Linked DNA regions of Homo sapiens: region 2 is linked to region 1. Evidence: promoter capture Hi-C in human tissues and cell types (Jung and others, 2019). All regions are on one chromosome and are shown on one strand. The core of a region is centred on a gene start or on the middle of the fragment in contact, and the rest is flanking DNA. Distances in the headings are between cores, read along the strand shown. Region 1 holds the start of PLIN4 (perilipin 4). Region 2 overlaps CHAF1A (chromatin assembly factor 1 subunit A).

What was found. The method cuts DNA at HindIII sites, captures the fragments that hold promoters and counts their contacts. A contact is called where the count stands out against the background at its distance.
Region 2: a fragment that was not itself captured here is called in contact with the fragment with the promoter of PLIN4 in region 1 in 2 of the 25 tissues and cell types used here (dorsolateral prefrontal cortex and liver).

The regions. Positions count from the first base shown.
Region 1 is chr19:4,516,406-4,520,144 of GRCh38, forward strand. It overlaps PLIN4 (perilipin 4), which reads right to left and starts at 2,081. Exons shown (of 8, transcript NM_001367868.2): 1 at 1,980-2,081; 2 at 1,817-1,884; 3 at 1,149-1,293; 4 at 212-273. The coding sequence starts at 1,867. The HindIII fragment of the contact is 33,356 bases long and covers 1-3,739 here.
Region 2 is chr19:4,414,197-4,417,935 of GRCh38, forward strand. The region is part of intron 3 of CHAF1A (chromatin assembly factor 1 subunit A); the gene reads left to right. Among named protein-coding and RNA genes, the nearest start is that of CHAF1A, 13 kb to the left of the region's middle. The HindIII fragment of the contact is 3,051 bases long and covers 480-3,530 here.

The DNA of each region.
Region 1 (3,739 bases), core at 831-3,330:
CAGATGTGGAAATAGAGGCTCAGAGGGGAAGCTCCGCCTGGGATCCCCAGGCTGTCTGCCTTCCCTCAGGCCCACAGCAGCCCCCCAGATAGCAGGAACTGAAATGTCCCAGGAGGGAGCAGCCCCCCAGATAGCAGGAACTGAAATGTCGCAGGAGGGGGCACCCCCAGGGCTCCTGCCACATCAGACCCTGCCCTGCACATCCTCTCACCTTTTCCGAAGGTTGCAGCTCCTTCTCCGTCCATGGGGCCGTCTGCTCTGGGTGGGCAGCCACTGTGGGGACAGGGGCCGGTCAGGGAGAGTGAGGGATGCAGTTAGAACCATCTACCCGGCTGCCCATTGCACAATAGCCAGGCACAGCCTAAAAGGTCAGGAATGTTTCAGCTACCCCGCCAGGGACAGCAGGAGGTGACATCCACGGCTACCAGCCAGACCTGGTCACCCCCCAACCCCGCTGGGGGCTCCCCCCAAGCCCAGGGCCGCTGTTCCCTGAAGTAGGGCTCTGTGGAACTTCCTCTGCTGGGTGGACACCCACCCTGAGTCCCGGGGTTCATATAGCCTGGCATGGGGGAACAGCCCCTTGCCCAGCCCGCCCCGCCCCCACCGCAGCTGCCTGCTGCCTATTGCCAGGCCAAGGCATGTGGAGCAGAAGTCAGCTGCCTGGGGCTCTGGGCCCAGAGGGAGGCCCAGCTCAGGCGGCTGCCCCAACCCTGGGTTCCCTGTCACCGTCCCTGATCGCCCAAGCTGAGCCACAGGAGGCTGGGGAGCCCCTGGGCTGTGTGACCCCAGGGGAGCTGTTGCTCCTCCCTGGGAGTCTGGATCTCACTCTGATGAGCTCAGATGGGCAGAGCACCCAGCCTGGGCCATGGTGCATCAGAAACGGAGTGCAGGGTGGGGGAACGGCCGAGGGACTGAGTGGGGGGGCATTGCAGGGAGACAGGCTGGGTTGAAAGCCACCTTCGGCCACTCACCCCCCATATTTATGCCTCAGTTTCCCCATCCACCACAAGATGTCCTAGTGTCTGATGAGAGCACACAGACAAATATGGAGGACTCCCCAAATGGCTGGAAGTCCCTGCCCGGGGAGCTCCTTCTCCCAGGTCCATGTGTAGAGTCCCCCCACGCCCCCAGCTGGGCCAGCCACTCACCCTGAGCCTGTGGTTGGGCAGCCTCGGCAGCAGGCGCTCCTGTGGGGTCAGCGGCCGGCCGGGCTCTCGCCGAGCTATGTGCGTTGGCCACCAGGTTCCGGGCAGAGCTGAAGCCAGGCAGGGACCCAAAGAAGCTGCCCAGGGTCTGCATGGGGGCGGGGGGTGTGCAGGATGAGCAGGCCAAGCCTCGGCAGGAACGGGTCAGAGGAAGCATCGATTGATCAGCCCAATGCCGCCCCGGCCCCTTGCTCCTGGGTGACCTCAGGAAAGTGTTTCAGCCACTCAGCCTCAATTTCCACACCTGGGCAATGGGCAGACTCAGCCTGCCTCCCATGCACAGAGGAAAAGATCGTCTACCCGATCTCCAAAGACCTTTTCCTTCCAGGATCCCCACTGCACAGATGGGGAAACTGAGGCTCAGAGAGGGGCGGAGCTGAGGCCGGCCCAAGGTCACTTGCTGGGGAAGGTGTCGAGGTCTGCGTGGGTCCCCCGCCTCCAGCTTGGGTCAGAAAGGAAGGGATTGGCATCATGGCTCCCAGACCGCCCCCACCAGCCCACCAGGGAAGCACCTCTCCAGATTCGAGACCCCAGGACTGTGGAGGTCACCTTCCCCGGCTCTGGGGCATCTCCAGGCCCCAGCAAGAATCTGCCCCATTTCCCCTCTTTACCTTGCCCTTCGGTTTGGGGGGATCCCGTCTCCCTTCGTCTGGAGCAGACATAGTGAGAACGTGAGAAGCTGGAAGGGGGCAGAGAAGGTGCGTGAATGGGGGTTCCCTAGCCTCCCATCCCACACCCACTCCCCACTGAAAGCCTGAGCAGCCCGACACCCACCTGCAGGCCTGGCCTCACCCTGGTGTCACCGAAGCAGACGCGGCCCCGCTCACCTGGACTGCGCGGGGTCCCCTGGAGGACGGACCGGCCCGGCTGGCAGCTGGCTCTACCCTCAGCTCCCTGGCCTTATAGGGTCCGGGGCAGGCGCAGGCCCAGCCAGCAGCGGCAGGCGGCCAATGGGCCCGGGGGAGGTGGCCTGGACGGTCACATGGCTACCTGCCCAGCCCAGCATGGGCCCAGGCCCAGCACCTTTCCCCTGTTTCCTGCCCACAGCTTGCATCAGGCTGAGTGGCTCACAGGCCAGATGGGCTCCCCTCCCGGGCCCCTGAGCCTCCAGTTCCATCCACGAGGTGGGTGTAGTTCAAATCTCTGCTGCACCAGGATGCCTTGGCCAGTTACCATCTTTTTGCTTCAGGTTTCTCTCTCGTACTCCGCACCACGTCCCGTAACATCCAGCTTCTTCTCTGCTCTCATCTCCCCCAGCTTCCTCCTTCGCTTGCTTCATCCCAGCCACACAGGCCTCCTCGCTATGCCTCCAGCGCACCTGGCACGGTCCTGCCTTAGGGCCTCTGCACGGGCTGTGCCCTCTGCCTGGAACACCTTCCCTGCAGGTTCCCACAGGGCACCCTCTTCCGCCCACAGAACAGTGCCTGGCATACATTTGGCGCTTAATACACGTTTGGCTCAATGGAGCAACACAGAGAGTGGTTGTGAGCCTCTGTGAGATGAGGTCATGCACTGAACAAATGCTGCCTTCGCGTTACCCAGGCAGAAGCGGGGTCTCGGGGTCTCGGCAAGGAGCAGGGGGTGTCCTCAGTGTGGAGGGGAGCCCATCACTCTCCGGAAGGGACTTGGGCCAAAACGCAGACCAAGATGGAGCACCAGCCAAGCTGGGGGCACCCTAGGAGTGGAAACCCAGCCTGGGGGGCTTGGGCCAACCCAGGGAGGCTCCCTGGAGGAGGCGTCCTGTTCCAGAAGTGGTGAGGATGGGATTCAAACCCAGACCCTCCTGTTCCAGGAAGTGGTGAGGACGGGATTCAAACCCAGACCCAGGACCTTCGTGCTGAGCCCAGCCTATGTGCTGGGCTGTCTGTGGGTGGGTGGGCAGAGGAATGGCCGTAACGCCCACCCTGGGCTGTGTCCCCCTCCTACCTGCCCCTGAGACAGGGTTCCTAGCCCTGTGTTATTGGGGGTGAGAGGGCAGACCCCATGGGTGGCTCTGGGCACTGGGCTGGGAGGAGGGAGGGTACAGCCACAGGATCTGATGATTCCCAGGCCGTCTGTCTCCTTGGAGCCGACACTGTGTTTGCCAAACAGTGGGGGAACAGAAGGGGGGGTGTCCCCCAACCTCTTCTACCAGCCAGTGCTTCCCAAGGGTGGCTGGGAGAGCTCTGGGTGCCCCTCCCCTTCCCAAAGGGCAGCCACAGCCCAGTGTGTGGAGAGAAAAAATTAAAAAGTGATCATAAACATCCCAGCCAGGATCTACCCCTCCTCTGCCCAGCACCCTCCATGGCTCCCACCTTCTCCGGGGTGGGAGCCCAGGGTCAAAGCCCAAGTCCCCTTCCTGCAGCCCGGTAGGCCCTGCATAACCTGCCTCGTCTGCTCCCCACCTTCCTCTCCTTCTTCTCTTCACTCTGCTCCAGCCACACGGGCCTTTTCACTGTTCCCATAACATGCCAGGACAGAGTCCCTCAAAGACACACGTGACTGTGCCTGCTTAGCCCCGCACACCCTTCCTCAGGGCTTTCGTGTGGGTTGTT
Region 2 (3,739 bases), core at 755-3,254, 100 kb before region 1:
TCGAAACCAGCTTGACCAACATGGTGAAACTCCGTCTGTACAAAAAATACAAAAAATAGCGGGGCATGGGGGTGCACACCTGTAGTCCCAGCTCCTTGGGAGGCTGAGGTGGAAGGATCACTTGAGCCAAGGAGGCAGAGGTTGCGGTGAGTCATGATTGCACCACTGTGCTCCAGCCTGGGCAACAGCCAGACCGTCTCAAAAAAAAAAAAAAACAAAAAGGAAAAAGAATGGAAACCTTGAAGCCCTCTGTTCTCCCAGGAGGTTGCCATTATTATCATCATCATCACCTTGTGTTTTTCTGTGTCCTGTATATCCAGAGAGATCTCTAGGAAACACCCAGTATCATTTTGTTTCCTTGTGTATGACATATACTGTAAATATCTGTCTTTGTTACTCAAGGGTGTCTTAGATGTTTTTTATATTGGGATGGAAAGATGGAGCTCTTTTTAACAGCTGCGTGATATCCCATGGTGTGGACATGCTGTAGGTTACAGAGCTGTTTTCTCAGTTCTGCTGTTTCTGTGCTTGGCTTTCACAAAATGATTGTTCCCTTGAGCTTCCTTCTACAAGTGGCCTTGGGCTGTTAAGGAGAATGAGGTCTTGGTAGCTCAAGGCAATGCGTGCGTTCTTATTTTCCCAGCTTGCACTCTCTCATGCTTGGGCCAATTGGAGGTTTTCTCTTTTCCCCCCTGCCTCCGCTCCCCTGCTGTCAGGTTTTAGCGGCTTATCTGGTCTGGGCTTAGAAATTAGATACCCTTTAGTATAAAATCAGAGTCCATAGGCTCTGAGAGGATTATCTGAGAAAGGGTGCAGGAATTTTCATGCCCACACATAGTGAGCTCTGTCGCGACTCCTTGGGATTGTCGGTTTTTGTGTTTTGGCTTCCTTCTGGGATCCTGGATCACGTTTTTGGCAGTTGAGGGTGCTGTCTGACCGGGCTCCAGCTGGGTAGAATGTGGGAGTGTTGCATAGAATTTTGAGAGTGAGATCTATAAACACTTGGGTCAAATTTCAAGAAGATAAAGTTCTGTCAGACTTCAAGGTCCATCTGAGGGTTTGGCAAAGCAAAAAAGATACCAGTTTTAAATTAAGCAGTAATTGCTCTGTTTTGGTTGTTGGATATTACTGAGCGGGCTCTTGCCAGTCACATCAAGTCTGTTATCTCTGGACTCACAGCAGAGGGGGGGCATTGTAAGAGGCAGGAGATTCTGCAGCTGAGCTTCAGGCATGGGCAAGACTAAGGAACTGAATTCCCCGCCACCCCAAGACCACATTCCGTATTATAATCTCTGAACACAAAGGGCAGCCCCGGAGAGCTGCGGCTCCCATATTCTGCAGTTAAATCCCTCAGCGTGGGGGAGAGGCACACAGCCTTGGCAGGCAGAGTAGATGCTGGAGAGACAGATGCTTTTTCTGCAGCATTTGGTGAGGCTGCCTCGGGCTGGCATTTCTGTTGCCACATTCTCAGCAAAGACTGAACACCCTGGCCTGATCTCGGTGGTGAAAGAGCTCCTGCCAACACGGGCAGCCTTCTCACAACGGCTCGGCCTTTCCCTAAAGAAAGGTTTAGTCCAGAAAGGACTCAGTGGGACCCAGGTGGAAAGGCTGTCTTGAGCTCATTCATCTGAAGCTTTTATTCTGTGAGAGGTCCTAGTCAGGGGTTCAGCTTTCCCAGATAAAGAAATCACTGTTGGCCGGGCGCGGTGGCTCACGCCTTTAATCCCAGCACTTTGGGAGGCCGAGGCGGGCGGATCACGAGGTCAGGAGATCGAGACCATCCTGGCTAACATGGTGAAACCCCATCTCTACTAAAAATACAAAAAAATTACCCAGGCATGGTGGTGGGCACCTATAGTCCCAGCTACTGGGCAGACTGAGGCAGGAGAATCGCTTGAACCCGGGAGGCGGAGCTTGCAGTGATCCGAGATGGCGCCACTGCACTCCAGCCTGGGCGACAGAGCGAGACTCCGTCTCAAAAAAAAAAAGAAATCACTTACATAATTTTGTTGACCCCTCAGACCATTGCCAGGAAAATGGGCCTTTGGTTTTTCAGTCAACTTCAGTCTTACACTGCAAGTCTGCAATGAACCCGGAGAACTATTTCTTCCCACTCTTAAGCGTCTCTTCCCATTGCTCTTCACTTCTACTAGTTTGGTTTTCAGGATTCCCTGCCCCGGTGGGAGATAGCTTAGGCCAAAGTCCAGACTCCCTGTTCGTCTTCCTTCCTGGGACCATTTAGGTGGATGGTGAGTCACACCATGGATCCTATTGGTAATTCCTAGTAGCTCATGCTCAGTTTGAAGGTAGGTGATAGAAAATATTGTGCCCTAGAAGGTAGAAGTCCTAGAAAACCCCAGCAAGTTTCCCTTTTGTCTTAAGCTTTCACTCCACATTCTAAAAAGCAGAGTTGGCTGGGCGCGGTGGCTCACGCCTGAATTCCTAGCACTTTGGGAGGCGAGGCGGGTGGATCACCTGAGGTCAGGAGTTCGAGACCAGCCTGGCCAACATGATGAAACCCCTATCTCCACTAAAAATACAAAAATTAGCCAGGTGTGGTGGCACACGCCTATAATCCCAGCTACTCAAGAAGCTGAGGCAGGAGAATCGCTTGAACTTGGGAGGTAGAGGTTGCAGTGAGCCGAGATCGTGGCACTCGCTGCACTCCAGCCTCTGTGACAGGAGTAAGACTCCATCTCAAAAATAACATTAAAATAAAAAGCAGAGTTGAGCTAGACAGAATGTAAATTAGTGGTGCACAGGAAACCAGCCTGGAGACATGTTTTATTTGATTAATTTAGTATCTTTTTATTTTTTTTTTAGACAGTCTCACTCTGTCACCCAGGTTGGACAGCTCAGTGCAGCCTCAACCTCCCGGGCTCCTCCCACCCCAGACTCCTGGGTAGCTAGGACTACAGATGTGCACCACAACACCCGACTAACTAAAAGCTTTTTTTAGAGACAGGGTCTTGCTTTATTGCCCAGGCTGGTCTTGAACTCCTGGGCTCAAGTGATCCTCCCGCCTTGACCTCCCAAAGTGCTGGGATTACAGGCATGAGCCACTGTGCCCGTCTGTGTCCATTTTTAAACACCTAAAAAAATTCATATGAAATTCCTAATATCAGCTTCTCTTGGAGAAATTGGAAGGACCAGCAAATAGGGATCTATATTCCTGTAAGAACTCCATCTCCTTTGGACAGGCAGGTCCTCTCTCCTTTGCTACAAATCCATCCTCTCCCTGTCGCCCAGGCCAGCTGTCGCTTTTTTTTTTTTTTTTTTTTTAAGACAGAGTCTCACCCTGTTGCCCAGGCAGGAGTATGGTGGCGCAATCTCGGCTCACTGCAACCTCCTTCTCCTGGGTTCAAGCGATTCTTCTGCCTCAGCCTCCTGAGTAGGTGGGATTACAGGCACCTGCCACCACGCTCGGCTAATTTTTGTATTTTTAGTAGAGATGGGGTTTTGCCACGTTGGCCAGGCTGGTCTCGAACTCCTGACCTCAGGTGATCTGTCTGCCTCGGCCTCCCAAAGTGCTGGAATTACAGGCGTTAGCCACCGCGCCCAGCCTTGTCTGTTGCCTTTATTTCTGAGCTTGCCTTGTTTTTCTTGTGCTTGGTGTCCTTCACTCATTTCTTTATCTGCCTCCGTAGTCTCTCTTGTTATCTAATCCCAGATACACACATGTATGCACACTTACTGGAGTTTGTGACCCTATTATGACATTTTGGTTCTGTTGGTGGAA